Linked DNA regions of Homo sapiens: regions 1, 2, 3, 4, 5 and 7 are each linked to region 6. The links are contacts of gene promoters, found by promoter capture Hi-C in human tissues and cell types (Jung and others, 2019). All regions are on one chromosome and are shown on one strand. The core of a region is centred on a gene start or on the middle of the fragment in contact, and the rest is flanking DNA. Distances in the headings are between cores, read along the strand shown.

Region 1 (4,241 bases), core at 1,638-4,137, 420 kb before region 6:
TATGTTTTATCTTCTTAGAATCTGCAAACTCGTTGGTACAATTTTACATTTCCGCCAACAATGTATGAGTGTACTAGTTGCTCCACATTCTTACCACCCTTTAAATTTAACTGTTATACTATGTAGTGATGTCTTATTGTGGTTTTGATTTGCATTTGTCTGATGATTAATAATGTTGAGCTCATTTGCTTTATATCTTTGTCGATGTGTTTGTGAAGTCTTTTGTCCATTTTTAAATTGAGTTGCTTGTCTTATTTAGACATATTAGGGTTCTTTATTCTAGGAAAAATCTTTTGTCTGGTACATGTCATTGCAAATATTTTCTCCCATGATGTGGTTCTGTTTTCATTTACTCAGCAGTATCTTTTGAAGAGCAACAGCTTTTAGTCTTGTTGAAGTCCAGGTTATTAATTTTTTTTTCTTTTATAGTTTGAACCTTTTGAGTCTTAAAAATATGGGCCAGGTGCAGTGGCTCACACCTGTAATTCTAGCACTTTGGGAGACTGAGGTAGGTGGATCTCTTGAGTCCAAGAGTTCCAGACTAGCCTGGGCAACATGGTGAAACCCCATCTCTACAAAAAGTAACAAAAATTAGATGGGCTTGGTGGCATGCAGCTGTAGTCCTAGCTGCTTGGGAGGCTGAGGTGGGAGGATCACTTGAGCCTTGGAGTTTGAGGCTGCAGTGAGCTGTGGAGTGTTACTGCAGTCCAGCCTGGGTGACAAAAGAAGAATGTGTCTCAAAATAATGAATTATTTAAAAAAATAGATATATGTAATTTCTTGCCAAACTCAAGGTCACTGAGACTTTCTTGTTTTTTGTTTTGTATTTTTAATGTTTTATAGTTTTAGATCTCTGATCAATTTTGAGTTAATTTTTATATGTGGTGTGAAGTAGGGTCTAAATTAATCTTTTTTGCATGTGGCTATTCAGTTTGCTATACAATCTCTTGAAGAGGTTATCCCTTCCTCTTTGAATTGCCTTGGCACCCTTGCAGAAAAAGTAATGGGACATACATGTGCGATCTCGGCTCTCTGCAAGCTCTGCCTCCCGGGTTCATGCCATTCTCCTGCCTCAGCCTCCTGAGTAGCTGGGATTATAGGCGCCCACCACCACAACTGGCTAGATAATGAACTCTTAAAAATACTTTGTCCACACCCCCTTTCATTTACTCCCATGTATTACTAATCCTGCTGAGGCCGTCTTGGTGTGACCTCCTTCCTCACCACTGACCCCCTCTTTTCTCTCTCAGAACTTCCTTACTTTAACAATCCAGTTGAACACATATGCCACCTTATTCAGCAGTTGAATCTCAACCTGAGAGATTCTAGTGTTCATTCTTCAGTTCCACACATAACCATCGTGAGTAAGAGAGGCTCATTCCCATAGAAGGATGAGGTTTAAGATTGCTCCAGTCATTAACAGTATACAAGATGTCAGATAGCGTTTTACTGGGTCTAAGATAAATTAGGCTGTAACCAAGAATATTTATATATCAAACCAGCCTCTCCACACATCCCAATTATAAATTCTGGACAAAATAGAAAAAGCTACATAATACCTATGGGTACCAGAGAGCAGCCACAATTAGACAGAAATAGGAAGGCGACTACCCTTGGAAGGAGGAAATGGCATGGGGGCAGTTTCCTTTTTTGGCCTTTTTTGAACAGTTCCTGGAATGAATTCTGGAGTGTTCCATGTATGCATGGGTCAGATTCCAAGCACTCCAGCTGAGGCTAAAAGAACCAAAGAGAATTATTAGCTGTTACTTATGCTAGTATTGGGGGAAAATATTCAAGTTCTACCTAGGTGACTCTTGAACCCCTTTTGAAATGTGACAACGTAGCAGATGCTGTTGATGCTGCTGTCCACCCTTTCTGCCCGGTTGTTAGCGTCACCTTAGGTGACCATCCCTTCCCTGTGAGTCTCAGTGGTAAATTCTGACTAGTGAAATCCTGACCAGGATTCATTCTCTTCCTTACCAATGACCAGTTTATGGGAGGCTCATGGTCCAGTTTGATTCCTGGCAAGTGAGGGGACCTTTCAAGAAAAGGTTTCTTTTCATTGTGTGAAATAAGCCTTTTTAAAATTATTTTAAGCCATTGTAAACTGAGGGTTTTTATTGTTGTTGGGATTTTTGTTTTGTTATTTTAATTTTGGCCAAAACTACCGGGTTGAAAGACCAGTGTTTTACAGACTGACATTCTATTGAATCTTAAAATAGAATATAGCTTCTGATTCTTGTGTTAAGCTTTCTGAAGTAATTTAGAAACAAAACCCTCTATGGATTACATGGCAAAAAAGGCATGTTTCAACCATAAAGTAAATTGTTTTAAAAATTTCCCTTAATTTGGCCAGGCGCAGTGGCTCACGCTTGTAATCCCAGCACTTTCGGAGGCCGAGGTGGGCGGATCACCTGAGGTCAGCAGTTTGAGACCAACCTGGCCAACATGGTGAAACCCCGTCTCTACTAATAATACAAAAATTAGCCAGGTTGGTGGCGGGTGCCTGTAATCCCAGCTACTCAGGAAGCTGAGGTAGGAGAATCGCTGGAACCCAGGAGGCAGAGGTTGCAGTGAGCTGAGATCGTGCCACTACACTCCAGCCTGGGCGACAGAGCGAGACTGTCTCAAAAAAAAAAAAAAAAATCCCTTGATTTATGTAAGGATTAGTCACTTTTGTATGCAAGTAGAAGGCTGAACTCATGCTTTTTATTTTTTATTTTATTATTATTTTTTGAGACGGAGTCTTGCTCTGTTGCCCAGGCTAGGGTGCAGTGGCACGATCTTGGCTCACTGCAATCTCCGTCTCCCAGGTTCAAGTGATTCTCCTGCCTCAGGCTCCTGAGTAGCTGGAACTACAGGTGAGCGCCACCATGCCTGGCTAATTTCTGTATTTTTTTTTTTTTTTGAGATGGAGTTTCGCTCTTGTTGCCCAGCTGGAGTGCAATGGTGCGATCTCAGTTCGCTACAGACTCCGCCTCCCAGGTTCAAGCAATTCTCCTGCCTCAGCCTCCTGAGTAGCTGGGATTACAGATGCCTACCACCTTGCCTGGCTAATTTTTGTATTTTTAGTAGAGACGGAGTTTCACCTTGTTGACCAGGCTGGTCTCAAACTGCTGACCTCAGGTGATCCTCCCACCTCAGCCTCCGGAAGTGCTGGGATTATAGGCATGAGCCACCACACCCAGCCTGAACTCATGCTTTTTGATTCTTCTGTATCACTCAGGCTTTCTGGAGGTGCTTATTAACTCTTTGCTAGATTAGATAAGTTGCTGAATTCAAATTTAGAATTCTGGAAATAAATGTAGAAGGGATGCTTTGAGAAGCATCCTTGTGCTTTCATTGTGTTATGCTATTTTAAACTTACGGTAACTTCGTGATGTCTTAAAATTTATTTTCATTGATTTATTTGTATGTGACTCCTAAGCTTAGAATTCAGTTGGAAAGATTTTTGTTTTTGTTCTAGTGAAGGAAGTACATTGCTCGAGGATTTTTTTGGGTTAACTGAAGTAATGCTAGTTATCTCTGTTACATGTAGTTAATGATTCTTGTTGCCCCCAGATTTGTTCTAAACTTAAACTTTTAAATGCATGCTTTCTAAAACAGGCAAAGAAGCAGAAATAATGAAATGATCACTGGGGCTTTGTTTCTGTACTGGTCCTTATTTAAGGATATTACAATGTTCCTAAGTTACCATTTTGACTCATAATATGTGATATGCTAATGTTCCAAGCACAGAGTATTCTTTTCTGTATGTTTCCACTTCCCAACCTACCTATGGTGTAGCGCCTGTCTGTACCACTACGTGTGTGCATGTGTACATGTTCCTAGCTTTTTATTCAGTCCTTTATGTGCTAGTTGATTGTTGAGTGCAGATAAAAATAATGTGTTGTATTTCTTAACCACAATATTTGATTTATAAGGAAATATTTTGATAACAGCATTTATAGTAATATATGCTCTTACTGATTAGAATGCCACAATTGATAGAAAATATATTGGATGTAAATTAGTTACATATTTACATAATCTATACACAAGTAACAGCATATTTTGTCAGCATAGCGTACAGTAGCCATAAAATAAGAGTGGGTGATACAATAGAGCATTGGTTCCCAGTATGTTCTGTGGTACCTGGGGACTCTTGAGACCCTTTCAGACACTCTGAAGTAAACAATTTTCCATAATAGTTTTTCCTGCTCTCATTCTCTGAGGATTGTGCAGTAGAGTTTTCCATGTAA
Region 2 (3,977 bases), core at 425-2,924, 420 kb after region 6:
GTTGTCTCTCAGGAAGGGAGGCCGAGAGGTGGGTGTGTGGTGCTTCATCATAGAGTGAGAGGAGTTCGGGAAGCCCCAGTGTGGAGTTATGGCATTTTAGCCCTGCTTTAAGTTAAGCTGAGCTAAACATGATACGATAAAATGATCTGCAGCTTTTCTCATCAAGGCGATTCTTCAGTGATCTCAGGAAACTGGCTCACCTGGACAGAATCTGGGCATAAATTACTATAACAGAAAGGCCAAAAAGAGAAGCTTGCGAAGGAGCAGGGGAAGTAAGAAAGAGGGAGATACTCATTTCTCAACAGAATTGAGGAGCCATATCTCTAGTGAGTGGCATATATTGAATTTAATAATGTTTGTCTGCTGGAGCAGACATCAACATAGGGTGTAAAATTTGGTGTGACATCGATCTTGGACTTGGTGTATATATATACCATTTATATATATATGATATATATATATACCATTTATATATATATGACATATATATATATACCATTTATATATATGAGATATATATATACCATTTATATATGAGAGATATATATACCATTTATATATATGAGATATATATACCATTTATATATATATGAGATATATATACCATTTATATATATGAGATATATATATACCATTTATATATATGAGATATATACCATTTATATATATACCATTTATATATGAGATATATATATATCATTTATATATGAGATATATATATACCATTTATATATATATGAGATATGTATACACCATTTATATATATATGAGATATGTATACACCATTTATATATTATATATATACCATTTATATATATGATATATATCCATTTATATATGATATATATATCCATTTATATATATATGATATATATACCATTTATATATATGATATATATATCATATATATATCAATCACAAACTCCACCCTTCCCCACAAACACCTCCCAAACTAAACCCAAACCCAAAGTTGATTCTATTCAGCAAGTCTTCTCTAAAATCTGCGGCCTCTAGTTTGATCAGGCCAAAGAAATATTCAACTGTTTGATTCTTTTAAAGTCCTATTGTGTCTGAAGTTTCTTTTACCTTCTTAAAATTCTTATCTTGATCACACTTCTCTTTGCATCTGTGTCTTTTTCCACAGTTGACTTTCCAATTTATTAAAAAACACAAAAAAGCAAAAAACAAACCACCACTAGCAACAACACCCCCCGAAATCCCCCCAAACCCTGAGGTCTATATATTTCCCAAATGTGCCTTGGCTTTTCTTTTTGCTTAATTTAAATTTGTCCTATGTCTCAACATGATGTACAACTCTATGTGTGTGTGGCTACTTTTATACAGAATTGTCATCTGGCAGATTTTTTTTTTTCACAGTGTTAAGTTTTGGAATTGCTTTTTCAACTGCTTCTCTGCTCTGTAGTCTCTTGACTTGAAGTCCTGAATTCTTCTGCTGGCATTTCACATGTAGTGATGTTTGTTGTCTCTGAAATATTATGTCTGGAGTGAGCATCCCTTCAAAAATATATAGAAATATGTTTTTTAAGGTCCATGCCTAATAAAACTGCAGCTGTCTATCTGCTGAGGGAAGCAAGGAACTGCAGCTCTTGCACAGGAATAAAGTACTAGAAATATCATTACCCAGAAATTCAAGAGCTTCAGGTGCAGAATATACCAAAATAATTTCTGTTACCTGCATTCAAAATGTGGTTATGCTGACAAAACCTTCAGACAATGTGTATATGGCAAAGAATCTCTCTGAGAACCAGAGAGAAAAATCAGGAACGTTGGGGCTGTATGCACATCTAAATTCATAAAGATATTTTGGAATGACATTAACTCTGCTTGCGAGTTTCACTGGAGAACCACTGCATCACCCTCCAAAAGGAATGTATTAATATTTAGTCATAATAATGAATCTAACAAGGAAGCAATCATGTAATTGAACAATAACAGCTGTGTGTTTCCCAGAGAAGATTCAAATCAAACAACAAGAACAGAGCTTCTGTAATTTTCTCTATGCTCTTTTCTGAAGAAGAAAGGATGTTAATGTTGTATTGTTTCTTTCTTGTTTTTTGTTTTTTTTGAGACGGAGTCTCGCTCTGTTCCCCAGGCTGGAGTGCAGTGGCGTGATCTCAGCTCACTGCAAGCTCCGCCTACCGGGTTCATGCCATTCTCCTGCCTCAGCCTCCCGAGTAGCTGGGAATACAGACGCCCGCCACCATGCCTGACTAATTTTTAGTATTTTTAGTAGAGACAGAGTTTCACCGTGTTAGCCAAGATGGTCTCGATCTCCTGACCTCGTGATCCGCCTGCCTCGGCCTCCCAAAGTGCTGGGATTACAGTATTGTTTCTTTCTTTAAGTTCTTTGATATTGAGGTCAAGACTATGCTTCCACATTGGTTGACCCTCCTACCTGTTAAAAATATAAGATCTGGCTGTATCCAAAACACATGCCATTTCCAAAGCGGATTTCATATTGTCTCTTCAGGACCAACTAGGTGGCAGGAAGCTAGGACCCTCATGATGTCTTGGAACATTCAAAGTCCTGTTTCTCAGTGGGTGGAAGAGAATTAGTGAAACAACAACCACAAAAGGCTGCTGACCTTTGTTTTCCTTTGCAAGCTGACTTCTCAAGCTCTGGGGATGCCTCAGTGATCTCTGATGTGGAATTAGTGGAGGCTGGCCGTTGCTCACCTCTACACAGCCTGCTGGTCGTTAGCGAGCAGGAGTTCTGATGTTCCTCTCATCTTGGATGGTAAGAAATTTATGAAAATGCTAAGTCCTGAGGATTAATAGAGGAAATGAGGACTAAATATACAAAATAGTCCAGAAGGTGGCAGGTGGAACACAGCAATAATATATGATGTTAGTCATCAGTCATTAGTGCCACAGGGATCCTAGGCGATGGCTGGGAAATGGCTTTTGCAGGCTGAGATGGTGGTAGCGCTTCACCCTCTAAGGCAAGTGCCTATGATTCAATGGGTGAACTCACTGCCACCCCAGCAGGGTGGGGTTGGGGTTGGCTTGGTGAGAAGGGAGATGTCATCTTGCCCAAGGAGGCTTATCCCTTGTGAAAGTCTGGAACAACACACAAAACACCAGGAGGAACTGTTTCGGAGTGCTGTCTTGAATGCAAGCAGGCAGCCTCCATTTAGATCTCACTGATTCTTCTAGGATATTACAAAGCACTTTCTTACCCCAAATCCTTCAGTGCCACCCTGCCACTAAATACAAAGAAGAAGCTCTGCTTCCCACCGTGCAGAGGAGCCACAGGGATTGCATGGTCCCCATGACTGCCTCTTTGGCCCAGGGAAAGGGCCCAATCAGACAGCACCCCAGATCTTAAGAGAAGAACTTCCAGTCAAAACAACAGGGCACCCCCGTGTGCTGGAAGGTCCAACTCTCTCCAGTCCCAAGAGTGTTAAGCATCTGGCTAAGGCTTTGCTAAATTTCCCATAAGAGCTGCATTGTTTTCTTCTGTCTGTTAGACCTAGGAAGTTTTCTGGGTGTGGACGTAGGGCTTTTGCAAGTTTCAAAGCTTCCAGGGGATTAGAAACCATCATTCCCAAGCATTTACAAGAAAATCTTTTGTCTCCACTGCTTGATATCGAAAAACAAGGGTCACTCTTCTTTTCCCCTAAGGAGGGAAATGGGAACACCCCGCTGACCATCTCCTTCTGCCTCAGGCACTTTCATGGAGACAGTCGAGGGCTTTGGGGCCTGTCCTACCTGGTGGTCTACTCAGTAGAGCCATCGGGCTGAAAAGGAGACATCTGTTAAGGTAACTGGTGATCCCATGTAAAAGCTTTGACTAAACCACAGGAGCTGGAACCACTTTCTCAGTAAAGCATGCCAGGAAGCACAAATAAAGTCATGTGCTGCATAAGGACGTTTTGGTCAATGAGGGACTGCATAAATGATGGCGGTCCCATAAAATTATAATATCATATTTTTACTGTCCCTTTTCTATGTTT
Region 3 (3,826 bases), core at 135-2,634, 310 kb after region 6:
TCCTAGCATGCTCATGTTTGGGAATGTCCTAATGACTGGTAAAAATAAAAAATGAAAATGGAGTCTTGTTTCTACATAGGGAGGCCAAGTCTTAGCTATCAGTTAATTACCCTCTTAATTAACTGCACCATCAGTGCAGGAGGCTGAGTATATTGGAATGTAGGTAAACTTTGGATCAGACAGACTTGGGTCTAAATACTGACCCAGCTTTGTGCCCTTAGCAAGTCACCCAGCCTCTCTTAGCTACCATTTCCTTACCCTTAGATGTGGATAAGGATACTAAATCTGCAGGATTTTTAAAAGATTAAATGAGACAATGAAGGTATGCAAGCTAGCTGGCACATAGGAAATTCATAGCAAGTGTATTTACACATCATTATTATTATTGCCATACCAATAATTACTACTGAAAAGAACAAAGATATATAATATCACTTTCTAAATAGGATTTTTAGTAGGGTTTCTAAATAACTCCAGCTAGAGAGCAGGAAACCATGGAAGATTTTCATAAAGAATCCAAATGTTAAAAAACTTAGTCAAATTTATAATTCTTCCTGGAAGGAAAATAGCTTTTTTATTTTATGGGAGAAAAAACCCTTGAAATTTACTTATTGAAACATGTCATCAAGTTCTGAGGAGAACATGAAGAAAGATTACAAAATATAGGACATATACTAGGACATCAAATGATTAATTCTGACTAAACTCAACAGATGTTCAGCAAATCAGTGATTCATTTAAAAGATGGCCCTGTTGTGTTGTCACTAGTGCTCACACAGGCTCAATAAACTAGTCACAGGAAAAACACTTAATGTGCCTAATTTGTCTTTGAGACACCATCGTGTCTAATAAGTACACAATGTCTGGGCTCTTAATTATAGGAATTTTTTTTTCCAGAAAGTAGACAGGTTGGTATAATCACTACTAAAGAAATATGAGACACAAAGAGGCATGGAAGCCTTATCAATCTGGCAGAAACATCTGGCAAGGATATGATGGAAGGAATGAGGTGATGGGGCCAAGTTCCCACAGCCTCATCACCTGCTTCAGGAGGAGAGAAACCACCCACTTGAGGATATTGTCATCCTTGCAGCTGAACCGAACAGTGTGATTTGGCCACTCGCAGTCAGATTATGTCAGCAAAGGAAGAAGGCACTGCTCTTTGGGAGTGTCAGACATTCCATGAATTAAGAATGAAATAGGAAATCATTAGGAAATCTTGATATGTCGTAATGTAATTGAAAACCTAATTTAGAGAGATGCTCGTTTTAATTTTGACTTGTCTTAGTAATTAAAGATAACATAGTTTACTGATATAACCAATATACCTCAATGTCAGAGTGCAATAAAATATCTATGTATAAAGAATAACAATAAAATGAACCCCTGTGAACCAGTACTTTAGAATTTTCTCTGTGTGACCTCTAGTCTGACAAAATCAGATTTACTGGCCCATTGCAATGAGGAAAACCACATGCTGAGAATCATAAGATGTCTCACCAAACAAAGGAAAAGATAGAAGTATTATAGGATTTGGGGGAAGGATGGAGTTTAGGCTCAAAGCAGCATCAGGTAACCCAAGGTCCTATTTCCTTGGAATCTACAAAGTTAAGATAGACATGGAAGGCTGAGTCCAGAAATCCTTTATCTGGTGCTCTGTAGCTGAGTTGTGAATCAAGAATGCTGCTCTGCGTCAAAGTGACTTAGATCCTCAGTCAAGAGCAGAATGTCTCATATTGATTTAATTTCAAACGGCAAAGCTTTTGATAGTCTATGATCTTAGAGAACAAAGTTTCTCTAAACTATGTGGTAAGTTCATTGGTGACAAAGAAAAATCAACCAAGGAAGAGGGATAGTGAATTCTGATGAAGGGGTTTCATTTTAAATAGGGTAGTCAGGGAATGTTTCATATATAAGTAAACCAAGGAATGACTCATGCAGATGCCATGGAGAAGAGCATTCTGGGCAGACAGAAGTGTGAAGGCTGAGGTGAGAGTGGGTCTTCAATGTTAGACGTTAGAGGCCTGAGGGTGTGGAATGGAGGGTAGGTGAGAAAACGCGGTAGGATACAAGGTTATCGCAGTAAGTAGAAGCCAGTTAATGCAGGATCTTGCAAATCATTGTGATAATTTTGGCTTTTACTTTGAATGAAAAGTGAAGTCATTGCAGGACTTGGAGCAGAGAAACACCAAGATCTAGCTTCCGTTCTGACAGGACCACTCTAGTTTCTGTGTTGACAGTAGACTCAATAAGGGTAGAGTAAAAAAAGCAGGGAGACCAGTTAGGAGGTTGCAACACTCACCCAGGTGAGAGAATCCAATGTCTTGGACCTGAGTAGGTGGCAGAAGAGGTGAAGACAAATGGTCAGATTCTGAATAAATGTTGAAGAACTGATAGGATTATGATGCTCTATGTCTATTCTCTTAGTGCTCACAGTAACTATTTTAATGTGCTTACTCAACTTATCAAAGTCTAAAGTTTATCACATGCTCACTGTATTCTGTAGTAATTAAAGATGTTAGAATACTTTAACTTCTTTTAAACTCTTTTAAGTCACATGTTATGACCGTCTACATTTTTATCGTCTATTCTATTCTCATATATATTAGATATTTTATTGAATACAATTGATGTTTGTTTATATTTATCTATATTTTCTTCATGATTATTTCTTCCATCTCAGATATTTAATCTAGTGTTATTTCTTCTCTGCCTAAAGTATATTCTTTATATTCTAAATATATCCCAAGTCATTTTGTTATTTCTTTCAATTTTAACAAATTTCAAAATAGTTGTAGATTTGTAAAACAGTTACAGAGAGTACAGAGAATTCCCATATACACTACATGGTGTCCTCGTTTTTAACATCTTATATTACTATGGTACATTTGTAACAATTAATGAGTCACTATCAATACATTATTATTAACTAAAGTTCATACATCCTTCAAATTTCTTTAGTTTACCTTTAATGGCCTTTTTCTGTTCACAGATTTCATCTAGAATGCAATATTACATTCAGCTGTCATATCTTTGTAGACTCCTCTGGACTGACAGTTTCTTATACTTTCCTTGTGCTTTAAGACCTTGAGACGTTTCAGGAATTTTGGTCAGATATTTTATAAAATATCCTTCAGTGGGAATTTGTCTGATATTTTTCTTATGATTAAACTGGGATTTTGGATGGAAGACCACAGAGATAAAGTGCATATTAGTGCATTTTATCAGCATATATTACCACTATCGATGTTAATCTTGATCACCTAGCTTAAGTAGTATTTGTCAGGTTTCTCTGCTATAAAGTAACTCTTTTTCTTCCTTTCCATATTGTGCCAGAGTGAGGAGTTATACTGCACCTCCTAGAAATGAGGATATGTACATAAATTATTTGAAATTAATCTCTATGGAAGATTTGTCTCTTTTACCCCATCTATATAAGTCTGGACTCATGGAGATTTATTTGATACTTTGGTTTTAGAATCCAATACTACATTATTTTGTTACTTACGTTGTTCAGCTGTAGCTGTTGATAGTTCTTTCAGGCTGGCTCTGATGTCCCTTTGACATGCCTCTGCACCGTCCCCCCCTACATCATTTTGGTTTCTTGAGCCCTTTCTTACCTTCTGGCACCATGAGATGCTCCAGGCTCCTCCTGTATATTGTCCTGCCCCAGTCCTAGAATCAGTTGTTTCTCTAAGGAACCATGGCTCCTTTTTATTGGAGAACGGAATTAGAAACCAAGACCTGGAACTAGATGTGCTCATTGCTACTGGGATATTAACGCTTCTAGGCCCTCTGAGCTGAGACAGCAAGAAAATATATGTGG
Region 4 (4,049 bases), core at 1,046-3,545, 350 kb after region 6:
TGTATTTCTGGTCCTCTTGAATCATCCTCTTCCTCACATTTGTTTCCTCTCAGGTTCCTCATCTCTTTAGCCGATGTGGCTGAATGCCAGGTGGTATCCTGGCTAAGGCTCAGCCAATCCTGGCTTATGGGAACAAGAATGAGAACCTCGGGATTCTACACTTCATCCTAATTCCTTGGATTTTTAAGCTGTGTTTGTGCTGAGCTGGGTGCATGCTGTGTTTCTGTAGTCGATTTTTCCTCATCAGGGAGTCTCTCTTGCATACATCTTTCCTGAACCTGGTACTGACTGATTCCCCTGATTTTGAGTGTATTCTCCTAACAAAGGCAAGCAGTGCACATTGGCACAGCCGCTTGGTATTTTTCCTAGAATGCTAGAAGGAAGCAGACATTCATTTGCTTTTCGCCAGTCTCTCTTTGTCTAAATTGTCCCATTTGGCTCAGCCCGTTGGCTTTAGTCATTAGAAGGGGGATGTAGGAAACTGTTCCTCTTGGTTTATGAGCTTAAGCCCAAGTACATCAACATGTGCCTTACCAGGACAGAGATTTACATAAATATTCCTGGGCTATCAGAGTTCTGTGAAGAGTGTTTCTGCATTCCAGATGTAGGGCACGCATGTCCAAATCCCATGTGGAGGTCACAGTTCACTAACTCTGGAGGGCCACCTAGAGAAAAGAAGTGTTTCAGGATAATCACTCTGCAAACTGTAGACAAGAGACCCAGAAACCACCATTCTTTTGGTGCTGTTTAGAATTTGGACAAAGAGCCACAGACACATTTTTGAGGTGAGGAGAACTGCGTTTTCCTTTTCATAATGTAAAAAAACCCATCTTTAGCATTTTTGGAATAAGCAATATTCATCTCTCAATTAGTGTTAACAGCTAATCAGGGTGCAGCAGGATAGTAGAGCTTTCCTCGAACAGCAGGCAGCTTGTTTTATTTTTTCAATGCAGCTTAAAGATTATTTGAAAAATCTCCTTCAGAGACCAGTGTGCGGGGAGCCACCTACCCCAGTCAGAATTTAAAATGATCCATAATACAATATTAATGATTGATGCGGAAGCTCACAGTTTGGGGCTGGGGTTTAATTAGATAAGCATTGCAGCTGTTTTCGGGTGGAAGCAACTTGATAGGACGTGGAGCTGTTATGTGACTTCCCATCTACAGGGTATCTATTGAAGCGGAAACAGAAGCAAGCTACTAGGAATTATGATGATTACATTTTTTTTTTCAGTGCTGAAATGAGTAGAAGTCTGATTGTAGGGGAGGAAAAAGCATTTTGTAATTAAAAAGGTAGGTTTGGATCCTCTATTCATTTGCTCATGAACTTAACATTCATAGAAAAATCAGCTAGTTGCAGGCAAGCAAAGATCTGGCAAGCTATATGTAAAGAAGTTACATGTGTGGCTCTTTTGGCCTGTACCACTTTGCACGTACAAAATCCTTTTGCCTCAAACCCATCCTTCCCTTTGCAAACATCAGGTCATGTCAGGCTGCCTAATGTCTTATGCATGCAGACAAATACCTCTAATGGGCTGCTTTGGAATTGCTTTCTCACCCTGAAAACTTGAGAAGAATTTAAACTGGGGTCCATTTCACCGTATGTCACTTTCTAAGTCAAAGGGACTTGTCAGCATTTGATTACGATAAGAGGAGTTTCCTGTGTCTCAAGCTGGAAATGGCTAGAACGCACTGTGTAGTCTGTTTACAACTAAGCTTCAGCCTGTATGAATGACCTCTAGTCATGAGAGCCATCTCATGAGGGCAGTTTATTGAGGCTTATTGTAAATTAAATGCCCCAGATTTCCAGGATTTATTCCACCACAATGAGGCTTGGAACTCTGTACATTTAAAGTGGTTTTGTTAAATTGATTTTTAAATTATCTCTACCTAATAAAAAGGAAGCCTGTCTAGGTGTTTTGTGTTGTAAAATAATTATACTAGCCATCTGGTTATCTATGAGATAAATTTTTAATTGTTTATTGTCAATAACTACAAAATGTGAAGTCACATGAGAATGCTAAGTGTATTATTTTTATTGTGTAGATGAAGCTTACTGAGTCTTCTCCTGATTGTTCTAAATCAATTTCTGCCTGACTCTTTGTGAATAGGGGAGAAATGAATCTTTTGGAAGGTGCATTAACTCTCTCAGGTTATTGTCATTCTTTGCACTGAAAAGGGACTTAAGCACTGCTTTCTCCCTTCCGGTTAGAGGTGTTGGAAGGTGAAGAACTAGGGATTAGAAAGCTTGAAAAACGGAGCCCTGGTTTGTCCATTTTCTAGCTGTGTGATCTTGTTCAGTTTGCTAAACTTTGAGACTCTCCTCATTTGCAAAATCAAAACAATAGCACCTGCCCTGCCTATCTCACAGAGTAATTCTGAAGATCTAGTTGGATGACACATGTCTTCAGGTTGAGACCTGAAGCTAGGCATGTCTAATATTCTGCACACAAACTGTAATGAATTAATGTAATAAATCAACAGGGGCTTCAGTGAGGCAGTTCCCTGCAGTCCATGCTACTGAGAATAGATGATTCTGTCTCTCTTAAACTTTCCATTGATCAAGGACGATGGTGAAATATTTGGATTTCTAAAGCTTCTTCTAATAAGTAATAACTCTTACCACCTGCCTATTTTGAGAGGTGTGGAGAGAGTGTAGGGTTATTCAGGCAGATATATAGATGAAGAAAATTAGATTGTGCATGACCCAATGAATTACAAGTCAGACCTTGGACCCAGGACTTCTGATTCCAAGGTGAGTGTTACCTCCTTTACAGCGGATTATCTCTGCAGACAGTATGTAAAATTAATGGAAATGAGGAGATGGGCTATGAGGGAAATGTGTGATCAATTCTGGAATTGCAGAGTGCAGATGTCAACAAAGCAGGTAATTCATTAAAGAAGATCAATAGGCTGAACAGCATGGTTGCCATGAGATGGACCGCAGATCACTATTTTGTGTATACAAGAGATTTGGCTATATTGTGGATTTAAAAAAAAGTAAAACAGGCTGAGTGCAGTGCCTCGCACCTATAATCCCAGCAACTTGGGAGGCCAGGGCAGGTGGATCACTTGAAGTCAGGAGTTTGAGACCAGCCTGGCCAACATGGCGAAACCCTGTCTCTACAATAAAAAAATTAGCCGGATGTTGTGGTGTACACCTGTAATCCCAGCTACTTGGGAGGCTGAGGCAGGAGAATCTCGTGAACCCAGGAGGTGAAGGTTGAAGTGAGCCGAGATCACGCCACTATACTCCATCCTGGACAACAGAGTGAGACTCTGCCTCAAAAAAATAAATAAATAAAACATACTCCTTTTAGTTGCATGCAATAATGATTGTTGATCATTTGCAAGTGATGCTTCCATACTTGTTCCCTTGATAAAGTAATTGATCAACCTATGGTCCCTTCATGCCTTTTCTAATTGATGCTGATGGAAAAGCTGACAACAATAAGTGATAGGGTTATTGTAATACTCCATCAAGATCTTTGAGGATAGAGATGGATTATAGTGCTTTAAACATCACTATAGATCCTGAAGGCAATCAATAAACGCTACTAAGGATGGGAAAGCCTGGTGGACTGCTGAGTAAGAGGTAGATGTGAATATTTTGGATAAAGGGAATGTACAGAATGTAGGAAATGCTAATACATAGTTAATGCATAGGCAATAGACACAGGGCTTGTAATGTATAGACAAGCACTTACCTTGTAGAATAATGGTAATTTTGATGAAGGATAAACAGCAATTACTTTTAATTTATTGGTATCTATTGGTCTTCCAATCCAGTGAATAGTCTTTCAGAGTTCAAATTTGGGCTGCATTATCCATCCCAAGGTTAAATTTTCCACTGAATAGCAGTGACCCCAAATCAAGCTACTTTTCACATGACATAGTCACGCACTCGGCTGAACACTCCTGCAGCACTTTTCACATGCCTCTGTTAAGCAGTTGAGGCCACAGCTCTGATTGAGATGCCTCAGAGAAAGGTTATTAAGTGAGAAGAGTAGATGGTCTAACATCAAGCATTAAGGCACCCCAACACTTAT
Region 5 (3,783 bases), core at 559-3,058, 290 kb after region 6:
AGGGAAACAGAGTGAGTGTAAGGGCAGGAGAGAATGGGAGGAACTGTGGCAATTTGGAGACCCCAAGATAATCAGTGAACCCAGTTTTGCCAGATTTTCCAAATTTTGAGGTTGAGCCATAAAAGCAGATTTATGGGAAATCTCCCAATTTGTCAATGTTAGTAATCAACTAAAAATTATGAAACACTGTGTGGGATAGACAATACCTGTTTGTAACTAGATTGGAATGGTGAGTTATTGGTTTTTAATCTGTACGTTTTTTAATCTCTTATGCCGTAGCATTCAAGCAATGCATCCTCTATAGCTTAAGAGTTTAGTTATTATCTGGCTATTATTTCTTATTGGACATTATTTTGATTATTTAAGATAATAAAAATGAGTTTGGGATATTGGGGTTAGAACCGATGAGAAGAGGAAAATCAATGTGAAGATTTCTGTGTTAGAGGAGAAGCTAGAAAATGTGGCTTTATGGCCCTTTAAAAGCTTACTTCAGGGAACTACAGTAGTTAATGGTTGATTATTGGAAACTTTGTAAGTGTGAGAACCCTGAGTTAGGAAGTGACCTGGATCAATCAGCTTCATCTTGGACTGTGGATGTTTAATTTAAGCCACTGCCTTAGGAATTTTGAGAATCTTTCTTTTTCCGTAGTGGGGTTTTATGAGGAAAAAGAATTGGACAGGCCACCAAAGTGGGACCGGCCATTTTAATGGCCATTTTTGTTTGTTGTCTTCCTAAACTTTTTTCCTCCTCATGATGTATCAAATGTGTTCATAATTTATGGGGAGAGAAGAAATTATGTATCATATGCAATTATCTGGTAAATATTTATGAATTCTCTGCTTTTTAATATGAGGGTGTGAAAATAACTTAAGTCCTGATTGCAAATTAGCAGTTACATAAGCCTGGAGAAGACAGCAAGAAACTCACGGTTCTAAAAAAACAGGTCTTTGTTTCTACACAGAAATGTTCCTGTTAAATTGTCTCTCCTTTTTTGACATGGTTGATTCCTCTGTTTCATTACTTTTCTAATAAACCCCAAAGCTGTGCTGCAGCAGAACCAAGATATGCTCTAACTGGGAATGACATGATACATGATACAACACGATACAAAATGCATAGTAAATAAATAAATAGTTCTGTGTACCACATGGAATGGACAACCAGTGAGAAAAACACCCCTTTCTAATATTACTTGAATTAAAAGGCTTCCCAGGCTGGTGAGCTGAGTTAGTGAGGGCCCCCTGAAGAGGCCATGTTCTGACTTTCCCAAGGGCCAGTTAATTTGGCTGAGTTCAGTAATCACTGCTTGTGTCTCTGGCTCTGCAAAGTCATTTGGAGAACATGTCTTCTTCATCATTAAAGAAACCAAATATCTGAACACTTGGGCATTGCTACTTCTGGCCAATCCACTTAAGAGTGCAAACCCTATTGATGTCTTTGGTCAATACTGTTATCTCCATACCCAAAGAAAACAGTCTATGGAGAGAACCCCACTTATCTGTGTGATAATGGCCTCCCTTGACCTTTAGAGCCTCAGCTTCCTTCTCAGGTGGTTAGCAGTTAGAATTTAGGGATGTCATGTCTGTCTGTGAAAAACTCTCAAAATGCGAAGGGCTGTACAAATCCCAGACAGCATGGTTGCCTATGGTTTTCACCTTATGGAAGATAATCTCTTGTCATGACAATAGCTTTAAATGGAAAATCTGCATTCTAGCTATTTCAGGAAGTGAGATTTTGGTCTCATTTGGGCTCAATACTATAAACAAGTGGAGGTGTTCAAAAGCTCCCTTTTAACAGAAATCTGTGTTTCTCTACTAATTATCCATTCCATAGTTGTTCAGATACAAGGCCCCAAGACAGCCGTGGTGGAGCCCCTGGCTCACTTTTGGGACTGTCCAATTGGCCCCACTCCAACACGCAAGCTGCACCTTCTGAGGCCTTTTCTACTGTGCTTCCAGCTAAAATTTGATTTAAAGAAAAAGCTTTGTTATTACAAAATTGTGTTTAGAAACCATTGAGAACATTCCAAACTATACCATGAAAATGCAGTGAGCAACAACCAGACTTCAGGAAACCCTACAGGATAAGTGGTCTGGTCACTTTGGCAGATATATTCCAAGGGGAAAAAGGGATGTCCCCATGTATTCTACCTGCTCTCCATCAATGCTTTCCTCTCTCTTCTGCAGAAATCAGTTATTTCCTCTCAAATGAATCTGTGCCATAACATACGGGCATGTTATTATTTTTCCTATCTTAAAAAAAATATTTCACCTGACTTGACTGAGGCTACCAAGGGCATCTCTTCTTTGCAACAAAACTCTTTCAAAGTATCATCTATAATTGCTACCAATTCCTCTCCTCTCCTTCTCTCTAGAAAATACTCCAAACAGGTTTTTGCCTCCATTGAAACTGTTCCTAGAAAAATCTAGTGGTTAATCTCCGAGCTCATTGTACTTGACCTATCAACAGAAATTGACATTCTTTCCTGGAAACACTGTTTGTCCCTGGCTTCCTGAACACATCTCAGCTGATTTTCCTGCAATCATTCTCACTTTTTTTCTCTCTCATTCTTTTAATTTTTTTCCTGGTTTCTCTTCCTCTTCTTGGCCTCTTACATGGTCTCTGCCCCAAGACTCAATTCTTGGAACTCTTCTCTTTGCCATCTAGTCTGCTTGCCCAGGAGAGTTCATCAAAGTTCCTGTCTAAATATTATCCCTATGTCGAGGACTCTGCCTCCCATCGATTGCAGTCCTTTCTCTATAACTGCACACTCTGTCTCACTGGGATGTGTAGTAGATATCTCAAATTTGAACATGACCTGCACGTGGCCCCCACATTTCCCACCCTGTCCTGCAGGAACCAGTTTCTGCTCTCGTGAATGGCACATCTGGTCCTCCGTGTTGCAGATTAAACACCTGCTGTTAACTTCATCTCCTCTCTTACGCTAACACCAATAATCTGGTTTTTAGCAAACCTTACTTTTGGCTCTACCTCCAAAATATATGCAGAATGTGGCCACTTCCCCACTCCTTGCAGCCACTCTGATCCAAGCCACCATTGGATTTGACTGGATTTTTCTAACAGCCTTTGCTTCTGCCGGTGCTTTCTATCATTGGATTCTCACCTCCACAGCCAGACTGAACCTGCTTAAACCCAGGTCAGGTTGCTTCTTTCCCCGATCAAAATCCTCCAGTGATTCCCAACCTAGTGCAAAACTAAGCTTCTCGGCTGGGTGCAGTGGCTCACACCTGTTGTCCCAGCACGGCCGAGGTGGGCAGATCAGAAGGACAAAAGATCGAGACCAGCCTGGCCAACATGGCGAAACCCCGTCTCTACTAAAAATACAAAAATTAGTTGGGTGTGGTGGCACGTGGCTGTAATCCCAGCTACTCAGGAGGCTGAGGCAGGAGAATCGCTTGAACCAGGGAGTCAGAGGTTGCAGTGAGCTGAGATTGCACCACTGCACTCCAGCCTGGCGACAGAGTGAGACTCTGTCTCAAAAACAAAAACAAAATAAAACAACAACAACAACAACACGCTAAGCTTCTCACTTTGACCCACACGGCCCTGGCAACATACTTTACTTCCCTGATGTCATCTCCCATGACATTCCATCTTGCTCAGTGGCTCCAGACATTTGCCTCCTGGCTCTTCTGCAAATATCTGCAGGTGAGCTTTACTTTCCTTAGTGCCTTGCTTCTCCTACCAGCATGTAAATTCCATGAGCTTATTGTTCCTACTCTGTGGAACCCCTGTTCCCAGGACAATGCTTCACACAGGGT
Region 6 (4,286 bases), core at 1,725-4,224:
TCTCCACCAAAAAAAAAAAAAAAAAAAAAAAAAAAAAAAAATAGCTGGGCATTGTGGCACATGCCTGTAATCCCAACTACTCAGGAGGCTGAGGTGGGAGGATGGCTTGAATCCAGGAGTTCGAGGTTACAGTGAGCCATGATCTCAGCAGAGCTGGTTCCTGTCTCAAAAAATAAAATAAAATAAAAAGGTAACAGTCAACAAATTCTTGTCTGGATGTGGATTCAAACAAACCAACAGTAAAAATAAGTTCATTTTTGAGGTGATCAGGGAAATCTGATCATGGACTAGGTTTTAGAAAATGTTAAGGAATTATTGTCAATTTCATCAGGAGGTGATAATTGTATTATGGTTACACAAGCAAATGCCCTTTCTCTGGAGAAACATACTGAACAATTTAGGGGTGAAGTGTTATGTTGTCTGGAATAAACTGCTTTAAACTGCTTCAGCCACAACCAAAAAAAGAAAAAAAAAGATGAAGTGGATATGGCCAAACAAGACTTGTGAAGTCCATTTGATGGATATATGGAAATTCATTCTACTTTGCTGGGCTTTTATGTTTGCTTAAAATTTTCCCAATAAGCAAAACAAACAAACAAACAAAATCAGAACCTTGATCAAAATGTAGAGGTTATCACTGGAGAGCCTTGCTTTCCAGGCACCCCCACCCCCGACCCCACCCCTCCTCTCGCGGAGTCCAGCCTCAGCACGCCAGTTGTTCACCTTTGTCTGAACACACTGTCATTTTCAGCTTCTTATTTTTGCTCATGGTGTTGGCCACCCTTTCCATTCCTGTGCCTATAAAAATCTGTTCTCTGCTTAAGGTCTCCCCAACTGTGACCTTCTCCTGGCCCTCCAGTGAGCACTCACCTCTCAGTTCCAACAGCACACTGCCTCTGGTTTCATTCTTCGCTACGTTCTAGCTATTTACCAGGTCTGTTACCTCATGATGCCATACAATCCCAGAGACTTCCAATAGCTAAGTCTTTTCTGTAAATCCATTTAAGGGGGTATCACGATGCCTTTTACGGAGCAAGCTCCGCAGTCCAGGGGCAGGTCCTCACGGCCTAAACACGGCTGCCTTATCCTGAGTAGTTTTACTGACAATAGAGCTTCAACTGAAGAATGAATTCCTGTTCAGCAGGACACTGGGCAGTCATGTTTAATTGAGAACTCTTAAAATTCCTAATAGAGTTTGCCTAGATGGAGGATGTTCTAAAGAGGGCTGCGAATATTTCGTGTTTCTGTCCTCTTACTGTCACCTTTCCTTGGGTCCTGTCCCCTCTTCAAGCATGGCTGCACTACACTTCCACACCAGCCTGCTGGTGTCCTAATCACTGGTAAGGGCCCTGGCTCGAGGTGGATACAAAGCCTCCCAATGACTTCACTTCAAGAATGGACACAGATTGGAAATCTTACTAGTAAAGAGAGAAATGAACAGATCATTTTAAAATCCCTCTTCTATTCTGCTTACTGCTACCTACTATCCAGATCACCACAAACAACCACCCTCTCCTAACTAGTAGTAGTTAGGGCCTGGTTAGTAAAATCAACTAGCCCAAAGTATTTCCGTACAAAAATCCACCAATTAGAAATTAATTTAACTTTGCAAACTCAGCTTTTACAATACGAATCTCTGCTAGAACACAGTGGTCTGCTTATTCAGGGAAGTCTGGCTTCTTCTGGGAATAGTTTCAGGAAAACAAGGCATTTTGGGAAAATACGGGCAAACTGCAGGTGCTCTTCATCTGAGCATTTCAATAAATTGAATGAGGCCAGGGAAAAGTCTTCACTTACAGGTAAATGTACATAAGGACACCTACGTGTGTGTAAGACCTACACTTTAAATAGGTCACCTTTAGTTTTTCATTAATCATTTCTCCTGGGACATTTAGCAAAACGAATAACTTGCTTTTAAAAAAGGCCACAAATCCCGGGTGCAGTGGCTCATGCCTGTAATCCCAACATTTTGGGAGGCCAAGGCGGGCGGATCACGGGGTCAGGAGTTCGAGACCAGCCTGGCCAACATGGTGAAACCCTGTCTCTACTAAAAACACAAAAATAAGCTGGGCGTGATAGCAGGCGCCTGTAATCCCAGCTACCCGGGAGACTGAGGCAGGAGAATCGCTTGAACCCGGAAGGCAGAGGTTGCAGTGAGCCGAGATCGCGCCACTGCACTCCAGCCTGGGCAACAGGGCAAGACTTCATCCCAAACAATAAAAAGGGCCAGAAATCGACTGCATTTTCTTATCACTTAAATATTAAATCAACTAAGCGTGGAGTTAAGAAGCTGTGTTCAAAAAACACTTAAGTCTGCTTTTGAGCTTGTGGCGTTGTCCTTGGCCCACAGAGTAAAACAGCAATGATAACCATAATTAATAATCAAGGCAGTAAATTTCTTCAAAATTTCAGAAGTTTCACTAATGGCTCCAAAGAAACCTTAGATCAGAAATTCACAAGTGCCAGGAGACGTTTTTAGATTTCTTTTGCAGCTTCTAGTCTCCTTACAAACAGGAAATCTTTAAAATGAAAAACAATTTCTGAGAAGTGTTAGCCCGGTTCAGCTGAGGTCCTCTGAAAGCCAGCGTGTGGGCTGTCACGCTTCCTTTACAGGGAAGCAGCGCCCGTGCGTGAGGCGGTTCCTGGCTTTTACCGCCCTCTGCCCGTTCTGGCAATCGCGCCCGTGGCCCCCGCGCGGGGCAATGGAGGACGCGTTTCGGGGTCCACCGTCCCCTCCCTCCGGCTGGCCTCGCCGGCCGGCGGCGCCCCAGGCCTCCTCCCTCACCCGCGGGGACGCCGAGTGCTGCGGCCTCGACCCGGACGCCGCGCAGGGAGCGACGCCCCAGGTTCCCGCGGGCGCCAGGACACCCCGCCTGGGGGGCGGAGCAGGCGCAGCCCCGACCCCCGCCCGGGCTCAGCGCCTCACCTGCCGGCAGCCGGGGCTGTCGGGGAGGGCAGGGCCAGGGCGGAAATGCAGGGCCGGGCCCGCGCCTCTGCTCCCAGGCCGCCCCCGGCGGCGCCCCCTGCAGGCGGAACGCGAGGCCCGCCAGCCCCTGCGGCGCCCTCGCACACACGTGGCCGCTCGCACAACTGGCCGCCTAACAGCCAGACCCACCCACGCCGATGCCCGCCGGAGACGCCCCGCCGCAGACACAGCGCAACCAGCTTCACACACCTGGGGACGCCCCACAGAAGTCACATCCACCCTAACACACCTGGGCACTCAGGCTCAAGCCCCGACTGCATGGTGGACCCTGACACACCTGGGCCACACCCCACAAAACAGACTCACAGACGACTCCACAAGCTTGGGGACACGCCACATCAAATGGACACACATGCACACACAAATGAACCCAAGCGCAGACACACTTGGGGATGCCAACCATGTGTGTATCTATCACATCACACACCACCAAGGCCCCCCAGCTGGGCATGCACACAGCCCTGATACCGAGTCCAGACCGCCATCTAGTCACACTGCCCACTTACTTACCAATACTCTTAAAATGAAACTGTGGCCGAAGGAGACAATGGAAGGATGACATCACCTCTTCCCTAGCTCCAGGACTAATTTAAGCCCCAGAAATTATAGGACTGAGAACCAAAATCGAAAGAGAACATTTTCCCTAGAGACAATGGGTTAAAGCAATGCCACTTGGGGGCCAGGTGGTAGGAATGGTACAGCTATGGAGAGAGTGACACTTCTGTCTCTCCGAAAGACACAAATCTGTGTTTATCAGATTAGCAATAATCCCCCTTAATCATTTCCTGCCCTTTCTACTTTCTCATGGATGTGGACTGATTGAAACCTTTATATAAACTGGTTTTTATCCAAACGTTTCCAACAATGCAGATGTAATTGTATTTTGAACAGATGTACAATTCCAAAAGAAATCTAAACCATCAGGTACATAAGTCGTTGGTTTTCACAGTTTTTTCTTGTCTTGGACACTTCATAATTAAATTGAAATGTATTAAAAAACCTTGTCTAGCTCATATTAATATTTTTTTTTTTTTTTTTTTTTTTTTTGAGACGGAGTCTCGCTCTGTCGCCTAGGCTGGAGTGCAGTGGCGGGATCTGGTTCACTGCAAGCTCCGCCTCCCGGGTTCACGCCATTCTCCTGCCTCAGCCTCCCAAGTAGCTGGGACTACAGGCGCCCGCCACTACGCCCGGCTAATTTTTTGTATGTTTAGTAGAGACGGGGTTTCACCATTTTAGCCAGGATGGTCTCGATCTCCTGACCTCGTGATCCGCCTGCCTCGGCCTCCCAAAGTGCTGGGAT
Region 7 (3,893 bases), core at 561-3,060, 400 kb after region 6:
TTTGGCTAACATAAGGGACTCCCAAGACACGAGCAGAGAGGGTGGAGATGGTTATGTGTCAGTTGGAGCGAGGTGGGAGCAGGAACCTCCTATTTAGGGCACAAATCTTTACACAGGGATGACATTTGAAAGATTTGGTCATGGACCTGGGTCCACTTCCTTTGCTTTTCAGAAAAGGTCCCAAGATTAGCAGCAAAAGTAATCCAGGTGAAAATAATCCATGAATTTGAACACTTTGTTGGGTGTAGTAGGGAGATTCTGACAGGTGCCTGATGACCCTATGTCCTGGTACCCACACCTTTGCTTAATCTCCTCCCTTCAAGTGGGGATTCACTTTTAATGTGACTCACTTTTAATGAACAGAATACAGCAGAAGTGCTGGGATGTCATTTCTGGATGATGTTGTGCAAGACTGTGACTTCTATCTGGGACACACTCCTTTTCAAATCCTCACTTGCCCACTCTGGTGAAGCCACTGCCACATCGCCAGCTGCCCTACAGAGAGGCCACGTGGCAAGATGCTGAGGGCAGCTTCTGGCTGATAGCTGTAAGGAACAGAGGGTCTCAGCCCAACAGCTTGCAAAGAACTGAATTCTGGCAACAACCTTGTGAGTGAGTGTGGAAGTGGCTCCTATTGAGCCTTGAGATGGCTACAATCTACTGTCACTGTGATTCAGTAAATGCAAGTCCTAAACCATGCCCAGCTTCCTGAATTTCAGGATATGTGAGATGAAAGTGTTGTTGCTTAGGAGTATTTGTTCCACAGCAATAAATAACTAATACACTAAGGTATTATTATTTTACTGTACCTTCTCTGCTTTGTGCACCTATTTGTCTGCTGAGTCCTATAAAGATTTATTCTTCAAAGTTTTCATTTCTTCCCTCCTTTCCGGTTTTATAGACACAGTCTATTCCAAGAAAAGCTTTAAACTTCCTGGGAAATTATAGGGAAATAAATTAGATGTCCTGACGTCTGCAGAATGTCCTCTAGACAGTGTCCTCATTATGCTGCCCTTGGTTCTTCCAGTTCATCAAATCTCATTTAGCTGTGCACCAATTAGACTGCCTTTGGCTGGAAGTGACATAAAGCTGAAAAATAGTGGATTATATAAGCCAATAGCTTATTTTTCTCACACAACAAAAAGTCTGGAGTTGAGTTGTCAAGGATGTTATTCTGTCTGAGTTGATAAACTTTGTTAAAGGTCAGAGAGTATTTTAGGCTTTGTGGGCTGTACCATCTCTGCTGCAATTACTAAATTCTGCCTTTAGGGCACAAAAGCAGCACAGATCATATGTAAACAAATGACTGCGTACCAATAAAACTTTATTTATGGACAATGAAATACAAATTTCATGTTATTTTTATGTCATAAAATATTATACATTTTAAAAATTTCCTGTAACCATTAAAACATGTAAAAGCTATTCCTTTTGTAGGCTGTATAAAAACAGGCAAGCTGGATTTGCTGGCCTTTGTATTAGCTTCCTTCCACCTTCCTACATTCTCATTTTCAGTGCATGGCTTGGTCTTCATGGGCACATTGTGACTGCTGCTGCTCCATTCACTGTGTTGGCATTTCAGGCAAAGAGAAAGGGGAGGGTGAAAGAAAAAGGAGTGTCGCCTAGATCAGATCAACAAAAGCCTTCCAGAAAACTTCAGCTTATGTCTCAATAGGCAGAACTATGTTAACGTTTTTAGCTGGGCTTATAGCAAACCTGATCAAATTTGGGGTTCTATTAGTAAGAATAGAAAGAATGGATATTGGATAACATCATTCAGATTGTAAGTGGTGAAAATGGAATTTGAACCTCTAGACCAGTGATTCTCAATGGGATGATCAACCCTTACCCTTCCCAGGGGGCATTTGGCCACATCTGGAGATATGTTTGGTCATCACAACTGGTGTGTGTGGGTGCTACTGGCATCTCATGGGTAGATGCCAGGGATACTGCTAAACATCTGCAATACAGAATTAACCAGCACAAAAGTCAATAGTGCTGAGCTTTGGACAACACAGGAGACTCTGTCTAAAAAAAAAAAAAAAAAATAAGAGCCAAGCTTGAAGAACGTTTCTTAGTCACTCTGCTATTCTCAACTATTTCTTTATCCAGCTCTCAGCTCTTTCTTTATTCAGTTCCCATATATTTTCTACACATCCGACAAAGATAATTTAAAGACAAACTGATACTTTTCCAGGTTTCCTCAGGTCTTGTATGCCATTCTGTAATAACTTTAGGAGTAAGGAAAGAATCTAAGAATTAACTACTTGGTTATTCTTGGCTAAGAATTAATTACTTGGTTTTTTAAAGAAGTTAGTTGTGGAATGAATACTGTTTAAAACATAAATGTAATATAATAATAAAAAAACCCAGAATCTCTCCCCACTTTGATCCAGAGAAAGCAAATTTCTGTGAATGCATGGTGAAGTTGAAAAGGAATGTTAATGTGCCAATTCAGTGAAATACCAACATCTCTGGGAGGTGGCCTCTGTGGGTTGTGACAGTACTAAGGAAGAGAGAAGACAGTGCAGATGCTGACTGGCTTTTCTTAAAGCCTAAAGAACTGGCATTATGTGAAAGAATTAGCAACAAATGGAAAAGACAGGGTGGAGGTGGAGGTATAAGCCCAGAAGAGTATTCTTGAATTTTTTTGGCTAGAAATATACCTCCAAATACACCTGCCGGATACTATAAAAATCTGAACATCACCAAGGAATGTAGTCACCAGATTGTCTAAAGTCAATGCTAAAGAAAAAGTCTTAAAGGCAGCTAGAGAAAAAGGTCAGATTATGTACAAAGGGAACCCCATCGGGCTAACAGCAGACTTCTCAGCAGAAACCCTATAAGCCAGAAGAGATTGAGGACCTATTTTCAGCATCTTTAAGGAAAAAAAAAAAAGAAACTCCAAACAAGAATTTCATACCCAACCAAACTAAGTTTCATAAGCAAAAGAGAAATAAAATCTTTCTCAGAAAAACAATCACTAAGGGAATTTACTACCATTAGACCAGCCTTGCAAGAGATCCTTAAGGCAATTCTAAACATGGAGATGAAGGAACAACATAATCCACAGACCCTTTGAAGCAACACACAAAAGAAACTATAAAACAGCTAACTAGCAACTTCATGATAAGATCAAAGCCTCACATATCAATATTAACCTTGAATGTAAATGGTCTTAATGCCCATTTAAAATGTACAGAGTGGCAAGTTGTGTTAAAAAAACACCACCACCACCACCCATTCATCTGCTGTATTTAAGAAACCCATCTCACACATAACAACACTCATAGACTCAAGGCTGGAGAAAGATCATGCAAACAGAAAACACAAAAGAGCAGGGGTTGTTATTCTTATATCAGGTAAAATAGACTTTAACAACAGTTAGAAGGAGGACAAATAATGGCACTACAGCATGATAAAGGGTTCAATCCAACAAGATGACATAAGTATTGTAAATATATACACATCCAACATTGGAGCACCCAAGTTCATAAAACAAGTACTTCTAGATCTATAAGAAGACTTAGCCACACAATAATAGTGAGGGACTTGAACACCCTCTGACAGTGTTAGATCATTGAGGCAAACAACTAACAAAGAAATTCTGGACTTAAATTTGACACTTGACCAATTGAACCTAATAGACATCTACAGAACACTCTATCCATCAACCACAGAATACATATTATCCTTATCTGCACAGGGAACATAATCTGATTGACCACATGCTCAGTCGTAAAACAAGTCTCAGTAAATTCAAAAAATTGAAATCATATCAACCATACATTCAGACCATGGTGGAATAAAAATACAAATAAGATCGGGCACGGTGGCTCACGCCTGTAATCCCAGCACTTTGGGAGGCCAAGGCAGGTGGATCACGAGGTCAG

The links. The method cuts DNA at HindIII sites, captures the fragments that hold promoters and counts their contacts. A contact is called where the count stands out against the background at its distance.
Region 1: a fragment that was not itself captured here is called in contact with the fragment with the promoter of GGACT in region 6 in 1 of the 25 tissues and cell types used here (dorsolateral prefrontal cortex).
Region 2: a contact is called between a fragment that was not itself captured here and the fragment with the promoter of GGACT in region 6, in 2 of the 25 tissues and cell types used here (dorsolateral prefrontal cortex and lymphoblastoid cells).
Region 3: a fragment that was not itself captured here is called in contact with the fragment with the promoter of GGACT in region 6 in 1 of the 25 tissues and cell types used here (thymus).
Region 4: a contact is called between a fragment that was not itself captured here and the fragment with the promoter of GGACT in region 6, in 1 of the 25 tissues and cell types used here (hippocampus).
Region 5: a fragment that was not itself captured here is called in contact with the fragment with the promoter of GGACT in region 6 in 1 of the 25 tissues and cell types used here (bladder).
Region 7: a fragment that was not itself captured here is called in contact with the fragment with the promoter of GGACT in region 6 in 2 of the 25 tissues and cell types used here (dorsolateral prefrontal cortex and lymphoblastoid cells).

What each region holds. Positions count from the first base shown.
Region 1 is chr13:100,166,810-100,171,050 of GRCh38, forward strand. All of the region lies in intron 6 of PCCA (propionyl-CoA carboxylase subunit alpha), which reads left to right. Among named protein-coding and RNA genes, the nearest start is that of PCCA, 80 kb to the left of the region's middle. The HindIII fragment of the contact is 6,001 bases long and covers 1-4,241 here.
Region 2 is chr13:101,010,593-101,014,569 of GRCh38, forward strand. NALCN-AS1 (NALCN antisense RNA 1) reads left to right here. Exons shown (of 8, transcript NR_047687.1): 3 at 2,626-2,758. Among named protein-coding and RNA genes, the nearest start is that of LINC00411, 68 kb to the left of the region's middle. The HindIII fragment of the contact is 3,999 bases long and covers 1-3,674 here.
Region 3 is chr13:100,897,902-100,901,727 of GRCh38, forward strand. All of the region lies in intron 2 of NALCN-AS1 (NALCN antisense RNA 1), which reads left to right. Among named protein-coding and RNA genes, the nearest start is that of LINC00411, 45 kb to the right of the region's middle. The HindIII fragment of the contact is 5,371 bases long and covers 1-3,826 here.
Region 4 is chr13:100,940,468-100,944,516 of GRCh38, forward strand. All of the region lies in intron 2 of NALCN-AS1 (NALCN antisense RNA 1), which reads left to right. LINC00411 (long intergenic non-protein coding RNA 411) reads right to left here and starts at 3,897. Exons shown (of 3, transcript NR_047015.1): 1 at 3,708-3,897; 2 at 535-665. The HindIII fragment of the contact is 5,107 bases long and covers 1-4,049 here.
Region 5 is chr13:100,876,724-100,880,506 of GRCh38, forward strand. The region is part of intron 2 of NALCN-AS1 (NALCN antisense RNA 1); the gene reads left to right. Among named protein-coding and RNA genes, the nearest start is that of LINC00411, 66 kb to the right of the region's middle. The HindIII fragment of the contact is 3,148 bases long and covers 235-3,382 here.
Region 6 is chr13:100,585,815-100,590,100 of GRCh38, forward strand. It overlaps GGACT (gamma-glutamylamine cyclotransferase), which reads right to left and starts at 2,975. Exons shown (of 3, transcript NM_001195087.2): 1 at 2,927-2,975. RefSeq lists a silencer at 2,608-3,127. The HindIII fragment of the contact is 6,002 bases long and covers 1,394-4,286 here.
Region 7 is chr13:100,988,511-100,992,403 of GRCh38, forward strand. All of the region lies in intron 2 of NALCN-AS1 (NALCN antisense RNA 1), which reads left to right. Among named protein-coding and RNA genes, the nearest start is that of LINC00411, 46 kb to the left of the region's middle. The HindIII fragment of the contact is 5,950 bases long and covers 1-3,893 here.